Linked DNA regions of Homo sapiens: region 2 is linked to region 1. Evidence: promoter capture Hi-C in human tissues and cell types (Jung and others, 2019). All regions are on one chromosome and are shown on one strand. The core of a region is centred on a gene start or on the middle of the fragment in contact, and the rest is flanking DNA. Distances in the headings are between cores, read along the strand shown.

Region 1 (4,764 bases), core at 991-3,490:
ACGTGAACTGTGGAATCCATTGAGCCCTCCTTTTTGCCTAGGCTGCCAGGAAGTTCAGCGTCACTATTGCCAGTCAAGCACAGGCACCCTGGAAGCCCAGCTGTTAAGCACATATGCTTCTGTCCTGCGATGTGGTATACAGCTTTCTATTTATGTTTCCAGTGTCCTATTGTGCATTTATAATATGCCACCTAATCCTTTTGGCAAACAGGTAGGATATAAATCAATAATTTAGGCTGGTCGCGGTGGCTCATGCCTATAATCCCAACACTTTGGGAGGCTGAGGCGGGCGGATCACCTCAGGTCAGGAGTTTGGGACTGGCTTGACCAAAAAATGGTGAAACCCCATCTCTACTACAAATACAAAAATTAGTTAGGCATGCTGCGGTGCATGCCTGTAGTCCCAGCTACTCTGGAGGCTGAGACAGGGGAATCGCTTGAACCAGAGAGGCGGAGATTGAAGTGAGCTGAGATTGCGCCACTGCACTCCAGCCTGGGTTACAAAGCCAGAAAGAAAGAAAGAGAGAAAGAGAGAAAGAGAGGGAGAGAGGGAGAGAGGGAGGGAGAGAGGGAGGGAGGGAGGAAGGAAGGGAGGGAGGGAGGAAGGAAGGAAGGAAGGAGAAGGGAAGGGAAGGAGGAAGGAAAGAAGGAGAAGGGAAGGGGAGGGAGGAAGGAAGGAAGAAAGAAAGAAAGAGAGAAAGAAAGAGAGAAAGAGAGAAAAGAAAGAAAAGAAAATTAAAGGTAAAACAGCAGATCTGACATCTATTTGTGGAAACGCCACATCAAGGGGCTTTCTCTTTTGAACCCTGCAACAATCTCCCTCAAAACTATCAACATGTGAATTTGTCAACAGATGGCCTGCCTTGTGAGACAGTTGGCCCTCAATGTTTGTCAGAACCAAGATGGAATATGATCTCAAAATTCTGCTTGCATTATGGATACCTGAGCTTTATGTGGTGAGGGTGTGGATATAGTATGCCTCATGGCAAGGATTTTTTGCTTGAAGAAAAATGGAGCTGTTGTATCTGGGTTTGAGAAGAATGCATATAGTCTTAATAAGGGAAGAGAGAAAAATATGCTTATCAAAGGAAACTGCAGTGGTTTTTTAAAAAAATGGAGAAAAATTTACATAATAGATTACATATATCCATCTTTTGTCCCCCACACACCTAGCCTTGGTCAAAGGTGGCTATATGTCACACCTATCATAGACCCGAATACATGTTATCCTGACGCACCTGCTAAAGTCACCAGTTCATTTTTAAGCTTCAGTCGAGCCAGGAACACCCCCAAAACAGTTCCCATGGCATGGCCCACTCCATTAGCAATTCTGTAGCCACCTTCACTGCTGCTGCTGCCTGCCACGAGGCCTCTTCCCCCTCCCTCCCCAAAATGTAGCGCCTGCTTCTTCCCCTATAAATACACCATCAGTAGACAGTTACTATGGCAACAATAAGGAAGCAATCGTGAGGGCTCCACGACAAAGAATGATGCTGCAGCCACACATGTATATGTCCCCCATGCCCCTGGTGGATACTGTAAAGCTGACTGTAGGCGGAAGGAATTTTTAACCCACTCCCCGCAGGAACACAGCTGAATCCTGACAGCCTGGAAAGGAAGGAAGGCAGGGAACTGGCCACCACAAAGACCTTGCTTAACTCCACCCCAGACTGAAGCTTCTGAATCTCAGGCCTCTGGGACACAACTCCCAAAGTCCCTCACATGAAGCCTGGTGACCACCAGAGCACCTGGTGTCCCAAGACATGGCCTCCAAACCACTTCTCCAAACCCTAGACTTTATTTCCATCCCTCAGAACTGATCGCCAGGAAAGGGTTCTCCAAATCGCATGACTCATCGACCCACCCAGTGACACGACAACTCCCAAATTATGCTCAAACTCAAACTCTGGGGCCCCCTTGTCCCTTTCCACTCAGGCCAGCCCTGAAAGTGCCTGTCCTCGCCCACCTTCGCTGGACACCAGCGCCCTGACCCAGCAACACTCTTCTCCCGGAGCTGTTCAATACGCCCCATCCCCTTGGCCCGGACAGGCCTCTAGATCTTCCCTCCTCAACAATGCCCTGCACCCAGCTCGTTGGCCCTGGATACCGAACCGTGCCCTCGGGACTGGGACACCCAACCCAAATGGCCTCACCGTTCTCCGGGCCCAGAAGGCGGCCGCCCTGTTTGCGCACGCAGCCCGCCACCTCGCTGCTGCGCCTCTTCCAGCAGGGGCCCTGTCCCCGCCCACCTGCTCCCCGTCGGCCAAGCCCCCCGGTCCGGCCCAGCCGTCTCCTCCCTCCCTTCCTCCCCTCCCCGCTGCCCTCCCACCGCCCCGGGCACCCTGTCGCCCGCCCCTCCAGGGCCGAAGTGCGCCTGGAACCCCCGCCCCTCGCAGCCGGGCGCCCAGGCCCGGCCCATTACCTCGGCACCCCCCTGCCTGCCCCTGCTTTCCTCTGGGGGCTCCGCAGCTGCCCGCCCCCCACACCCCGCCGTTCCAGGGCTGGCCTCGCGCCCCGCGCCTCGCGCGCCACGACCGCAGTGCCCCGATCGCCAGGCCGCAATCGTCGCGCTGCCCCGCGCACCGGGCCGCCGGCCGCCTGGCCGAGTGGAGGAAGGAGGGGTGGGGGCGACGGAGTGGGCCGAGGGGGTTGGGAGAGCGGGCGGGCAAGCCGGGCCGGAGGGGCGGCGGCGCGCACCGAGCACCGCGCGCCCGCGCCCCACTCTGCCGGCGCCGCCCCTGCCCCCGCCCGTGCCGCCGGGGGGCGGGGCCTGACTGGCGGGCCTGGGGCACACAGAGGACCCTTGGTCAAAGCCCTGGTCCAGTCGTGACCCAAGGCGTGGGCCCTCGGAAGATACGGCGTAGCAGGGAGCTCCGGCGGCCGCTCCCAAGGCCCGCGCGCCAGGCGTCCCTGCGCAGCCCAACCCGCGTCCTGTCCCCACCCCCCGGGCTCACCTGCCATTCAGGCCCGCCGGGCTCCTGGGGCCAACGAAAAGAGAGGGGGGCTAGCCTGCAACCTAGGCCTGCCTTGCCAGGGATCCACAGGGCCCTCAGAAGAAGGACCGAGTCGAGGCCGCGTTCCGCCAATGACTGGGTGACCTTGGCTTCTTCACTTACCTACCCCCACCCTGCCCCGGGAAGGCAGGCTTCTCTCCTGCAAAGTCCGAGAAATGGGGAGAATTCTGCCTCCCTCGCGAGGCTGCAGCGATTTGAAGGAGGAAATGGGTTTGGAAAACTCTAAGGCTCAGTAAGGGGAGAAGGAATCTTCTGCGACTGCAAGGAGCGCTAGATGGGGGCTCCTTCGGAGGCCGCACTGTGAGAAGTTCAGCATGGCAGGACAAGACGCATAGCAGAGATTACACTAGTCCAGGAGGAACCACATGACAGGTCCACTGCTAAGAGAGGGGCAAAGGGGTTCCGGGTGGGCTGAGGTTCTGGGTCTAGGAAAGCCTCCCTCGGAGAAGGGGATGCTGGGTTTTTAGGGTTCCTTTTTGTTCTCTGCACATCTAGAACCCGGCCAGGCACTGGGGTTGGCGTCCTCTTCCTCCCTCCACCCCAAGTGTTGCTTTTGATGGGAATGAGTCTCAGAAGGCGGTTCCAGAACCACTCCCACCCCTATCCCAGGGCGGGTATTAGCAACCTGCCTTGCCAGGGGGCGGAAGAGGGGTGGGCGAAGGCCTTCATTGCCACCGGCCGCCTCCCCTCCAACCCCCAGGGCCTGGCTCCCCTAGCTCCCCCGATGCCTGCCTCTACACTTCTCTCCCCGCATGGTGCTTTCCCTTCCATTTCTGCCTCCTGTTAGAGTTCTTCCCTAGCTTGCTTGCTATTTCACGGCTGCAGGAATCTTCCTTACCCACGACAGCTCTTCTATGGCCTTCCCCCCATGCCTCCGGAGCCTGTGGGGCAGAATTCCACAGACTCTTCTGGAACTAACCTCTTGAGTTTCCTAGCCCACCAGCATGTTCCCATCGTGATCTTAACACCGCATAGACCCTTGTGCACTTGACTGTTAAAAAAGCAGCTCTTCCAGTATGTGCACAAGGGTCTATGGCTTCTGCCCTCCTTCTGGCACTCCCACTTTAGCTTCTGGCTCCAGCCACATGAGGCTACTTCTACTTCCCACTGCCCAGAATGCCTTTCCTCCCACTGTGGACCTGGAGCACTTGCATTCATTCTTCCCACACAGTGCGCATGACATCTCTACTGTGAGGTCTTGCAGGATCCTTCCTGCACCCCAGTCCGCCATTCCACTCTCAGGACTATCTGCAGAGACTATGAACATGGGGGCCTCGGTGGATAGCAAGGTGGGGGAGGAGGAATAGCAGTGCCTCTGGAGCGTAGTGCCTGCTGCACCTCTTGGTGGTACTACATAGTAGGCTCTATTATCTCCAGCAAGTGTTTGACCTCTCTGCATCTCGGTTTCCTTACCTTTCAGATGAGAATGATGCTAACAGTGCCTGCCTCAAAGCGTTGCTAAGCGGGTAGTGGAGCTAATCACATAGAATGTGCCTGGCGCTTAAGTGTGAGCTTAATGCACATCAGCTGGCCTGCATCCAGCTACCTTGTGTTCATTTGGTAGCTCACTTACGTGCACACTTGCCTCCTCTCTTGGGGCCAGGGACCTTGTCTCTTCCTGTGTCCCTACCATCTCGCACAGAACCTCATCCACAGCTGGTGCTCTCTAGAGACTTGTCAAGCTGAGGCTGGAGGGGCTGGGGCTGAGAAGGCCTCCATTGCCTTCTTACCTGCCCCCATTTCTGTTCCG
Region 2 (4,764 bases), core at 1,046-3,545, 190 kb after region 1:
TGCAAAGAAATTTCTTTTTCATTCAACACATATTTAATTACCACTACAAGCCAAGCAGTTACTGCTGTTACAAACAGTTTATATATATATGTATATATATATATTTTTGAGACGGAGTCTCTCTGTGTCGCCTAGGCTGGAGTGCAGTGGTGTGATCTCAGCTCACTGCAACTTCCGCCTCCCAGGTTCAAGCAATTCTTCCTGCCTCAGCCTCCAGAGTAGCTGGGGTTACAGGTGCCCGCCACCACGCCTGGCTAATTTTTGTATTTTTTTTTTTTTTTTTTTAGTAGAGATGGTGTTTCAACATGTTGGCCAGGCTGGTCTTGAACTCCTGACCTCAGGTGATCCACCCGCCACGGCCTCCCAAAGTGCTGGGATTACAGGCGTGAGCCATGGCACCCGGCCCAAACAGTGTATTTCTTAACATATCTAAAATCTTCTCAGGCCCTAGAAATGAATTGTGTTTGGACAAGGGTGCTTTTATTCCTTTAAAACTACTAGGTGCTCTCTTACTTTTGCCTCCTTAAACCTGAGTTGCAAACCCTTCTTTACTCTGGGGGTTGGTGGAGTATAGCCCTTCCTGGACTGGATGTCTCCTTGAGGCTCTGTTCTGTTTTGCAAATGAACACTTACTCTTCTTGTGACATGATGCATCCTTGGAATTTGACCACTGCAAACTTTCTGCATATGAAGGGTGAGCTGTCACTCCATCTGGGACGTCCCTGGGTTCTTTATAAGCACACTGCTATTGCAACAGTTAGCTGTGGCCTCAAAATGTCCCATTTTCTATTGAGCTGCTCTGATTTAACTTTTCAGGAAAGAAAAACCCTGTAATCTACTGCAGACAGCTGAGTTGGGCTGATACATGTGTTTTCTCAAAGGATACCTCTTTTAGCTCCACAAGAAGCAAACAGCTCACTCCAGAGTCCTAGAGCATTATACAATGCCTTGATCTGGGGGAGCCTTGAGGAAACCTTTGCTGGCAATAGCAATGACAATTGAGGTGAGACATCAATAGTGGCAGCCATTCTTCACAAATGTACAGTGCTTCACTGCTGACAAAGTGCTACAGGATATATCTTGTCTTATTTATTACATCAGTATTGTGTGGTAAGCAGGTGTTTGGTTAATACTGAGTGTCAACTTGATTGGATTGAAGGATACAAATTATTGATCCTGGATGTGTCTGTGAGGGTGTTGCCAAAAGAGATTAACATTTGAGTCAGTGGGCTGGGGAAGGCAGATCCACACTTAATCTGATGGGCACAATCTAATCAGCTGCCAGCGAATATAATGCAGGCAGAAAAACATGAAAAGGAGAAACTGGCCTAGCCTCTCCCAGCCTACATCTTTCTCCTGTGCTAGATGCTTCCAGCCCTCGAATATTGGACTCCAAGTTCTTCAGTTTTGGGACTCAGAGTGGCGCCCCTTGCTCTTCAACTTGCAGACAGCCTATTGTGGAACCTTGTGATCGTGGAAGTTAATACTTAATAAACTCCTGTATATATATGTGTGTGTGTGTGTGTGTGTGTGTGTGTGTGTGTGTGTGTGTGTGTGTATATATATATATATATATATATATATATATATATAGAGAGAGAGAGAGAGAGAGAGAGAGAGAGAGAGAGAGAGAACCCTGACTAGAGAACCCTCTAGTCCCTCTAGAGAACCCTGACTAACACAGCAGGACAAGAATTAGTATTGTCATAGAAGGAGACTGAGGTCCCAGAAGGCAAAAAGCTTGATTAGGATCACAAAACCAGTAAGTAGAAGAGCTCAAAGAAAAATCTAGATTTCAGGCCTCTGTGCCAGAGCTCAAATGGGGACTGTTTCCTATGATCTGTCTTCTGACTGAAATGGAACTGCAAGAGCCCTGACCACCTCAGGTGCCTGGCTAATGTAGTGGTAAATTCAAATAGTTTCTCTTGAGTTGTCTACCTTCAAGAGTAACATTTCTGCCTGTCCTCCAGGGTAGTCATTCACTTGTTCATTCACTCACTATGTGTATATTGAGCCTTTAGTATGTTCCAGGCACTAGAAATCCAGCAGAGAACAAAGCTAAACATGGTTGCTGACTTCCTAGAGCTTATAGCCTGGTAGAGGAGAGATCCAATGAACAGAAAATTACAAAAATAATGATAAATTTTGATAGTTGCTATCAAAGAAGAGTATAGGGTTCTATGAAACAGAATAAGAAGGGGGACTTCATCCAGTTTGGGAAGGTCAGAGAAGATTAAATCATCTCTGATTAAATCATATTCAACTCCTACTCTTAATGGATGGAGTAGGAGTTACCAAATGTTGGTTGAGGGTGGTGGGGTAGCAAATGGAACAGCATGAGTGAAGGCCCTGGGATAGGAAAGAACTTGGAGTATTACAGGAAAAAGACGAGACTTATGTGGCTGAAGTGGCGCAAGTGAAGGGGAAGTTGGAGAAAAATGAGCCTGCAGGGTGAACAGAAGCCAGATCACGAAAGCTGGGGAACAACCCCTTTTAAGCTTGCTTTGAATGTACTTGAGTAGGACCTAGACTCCTGAAGACCTTATGAATGCCTATGAATTTATTATTCAGCCTCTTCTCATTCATCTTAGATGCTCTGGGGCCACCTAGAGGCCAAAACACAGTGCCCAGTGGGGCAATTAAGGCTAAGAAAGGCAGAGCGTGTTCCCTACTGTGGAGACAGAGTGTTAGAGAGTTGCATGGGGCATTGACCTTGGCTGGCAGCTTTCTGGAAGCTAAGGCACAAAGGGAAATTTACTGGTTTTTGTGGTGGTTGTTTTCTGGCAACAAAAAAAATTAAAGCAAAAGCTGACTGATCAGCAGCCAAGGCCAATGAGTCCTGAAACTCAATTAAACTGAGAAGTCTTCACTTGGGACCTGCATGAGAGTGTACTATGACTTCAGCAAGTGCTGCCTCAAATGAATGGCAACTCTGCTTCTGCTCATGGCACCATCAAGCCTGGGAGAATGGACTATACCCTCCAGAAAGAGGGAGGTGGAGGCATTTCTGCCAGTTGGGAAGATAACAAGGTTCAGACAGTCTGTTCTCTGATGTCTGAGCTTAATGCAGCAGAATAAATAAGCACAACTTGATGAGGAGGGAGTTAATGTATTCATTAGCTTGCATTGCTCCACTGAAAGGTCTGAATACATTTGTAACAGGGCGGCATTGCAGGTACTTTCCAATTGATGCCCTTGAGAAGTGTTGATAATGTGGTACACAGTTGGGAACCCAAAGCACTTGAATAGATGAGTCCAATTTCTTCATCCCTGTATGAGAAAATAATCACCTTATTTTTACCCTCCAGGGATTGAGGGCGGAGCCTGTTAGAGGTGGTAACTTCAAACCCTGGACAAAGTCAGCTGGATGTCTGCAAAAATGGAAATCTTAAGGCTTTGTTAGAAAATGTTCTGGAATTCTGAGCAAACTATCGCAAGGACAGAAAACCAAACACCGCGTGTTCTCACTCATAGGTGGTAATTGAACAATGAGAACACTTGGACACAGGGCAGGGAATATCACACATTGGGGCCTGTCGTGGGGTGGGAGGCTGGGGGAGGGATAGCATTAGGAGAAATACCTAATGTAAATGACGAGTTAATGGGTGCAGCACACCAACATGGCACATGTATACATATGTAACAAACCTGCACATTGTGCACACGTACCCTAGAACTTAAAGTATAATAATAAAAAAAAAAGAATTTAAAAATGGAAAAAAATGCTATAGCAAATAAATCTTTATAATCATCCCCCCACCCCCCCCCCAAAAAAGAGGAGTTCTTCGTTGGTTGGGATCCCAACTGAAAAGGCAGACATGGCTTGTAGAGCATTAAAACTGATGTTACAAAAGCTAAATACCACATGGACAGAGCAGCAAGTGGCCAAAGATATCTCTATCCAGGTGGCTAAAAGCTTCCCCTTGGCAGGATAGCTAATTTTGACACAGATTGTAATCTGGGAGAAGCAGACATATCAGCCTTGACGATGAATGGGGCTGCCTTCCCAATGTACACCTGTATAGCTCTGGAACAGAATGGGTTTAGGCGGCAGGTAGGCAGGAAGAGGCAGACATGTTTCAGGTTGGCTGGCATCAGGGGTTCAAGGTACGCTCATCGATGTAGTAGAAAGGAAGGAGCCTCAACATCTTCCTTAAAGAATAATCCGGTTAACAGACCATTGGTTAATAGATTAGACACTGGGCCAGAGGCCCAAAATCTGGGACATAACTTTGTAGTTGTAAGTGCCCTTCAACCTCTGAGATATGATTGGTGGCGTGAAGTTTACAGAATTTGAGGGTAACAACAAGCTGAAGAAAAATCTGGAGAAGAGCCTGAGGAAACAGAATCACAGTCTGTCTTAAAAAGACATTGCCTGATACTATCCTCTTTTTGTATAGATGGGACCTCAAAGCCCAGAGAGGGAGCAAGGGACATACTGAAGTCACACAACCACTGAATGGCAGAGCCAGGGCTAAAATGCATCTATTCTGCTTCTTGGGCTGCCACTTGAACATAGGTTCAAGTCTTCCATGGATAAATACAAGTCACTTGATCAAAGACTAAAGAGAAGTCTGCGGGTAAGCATGGAGAATTATTTGACTAGGCTCCAACAGGACAGTGTACAAAAACCAGGAAGAGCAGTAGGCAGAAGCCTGGGGATACCAACATTTAAAGGGAAGGCCAGGGAAGAGATCACTAGGCTGTGCACTCTGAGGGCAGGCACTGGCTCCTACTTACTATTGCTACCTCAACACTTAGTAT

What was found. The method cuts DNA at HindIII sites, captures the fragments that hold promoters and counts their contacts. A contact is called where the count stands out against the background at its distance.
Region 2: a fragment that was not itself captured here is called in contact with the fragment with the promoter of PRRG3 in region 1 in 2 of the 25 tissues and cell types used here (liver and mesendoderm cells).

The regions. Positions count from the first base shown.
Region 1 is chrX:151,692,934-151,697,697 of GRCh38, reverse strand. PRRG3 (proline rich and Gla domain 3) reads right to left here and starts at 2,240. Exons shown (of 4, transcript NM_001372163.1): 1 at 2,154-2,240. The HindIII fragment of the contact is 8,484 bases long and covers 1,472-4,764 here.
Region 2 is chrX:151,503,854-151,508,617 of GRCh38, reverse strand. No RefSeq gene overlaps it. Among named protein-coding and RNA genes, the nearest start is that of PASD1, 57 kb to the left of the region's middle. The HindIII fragment of the contact is 4,683 bases long and covers 1-4,636 here.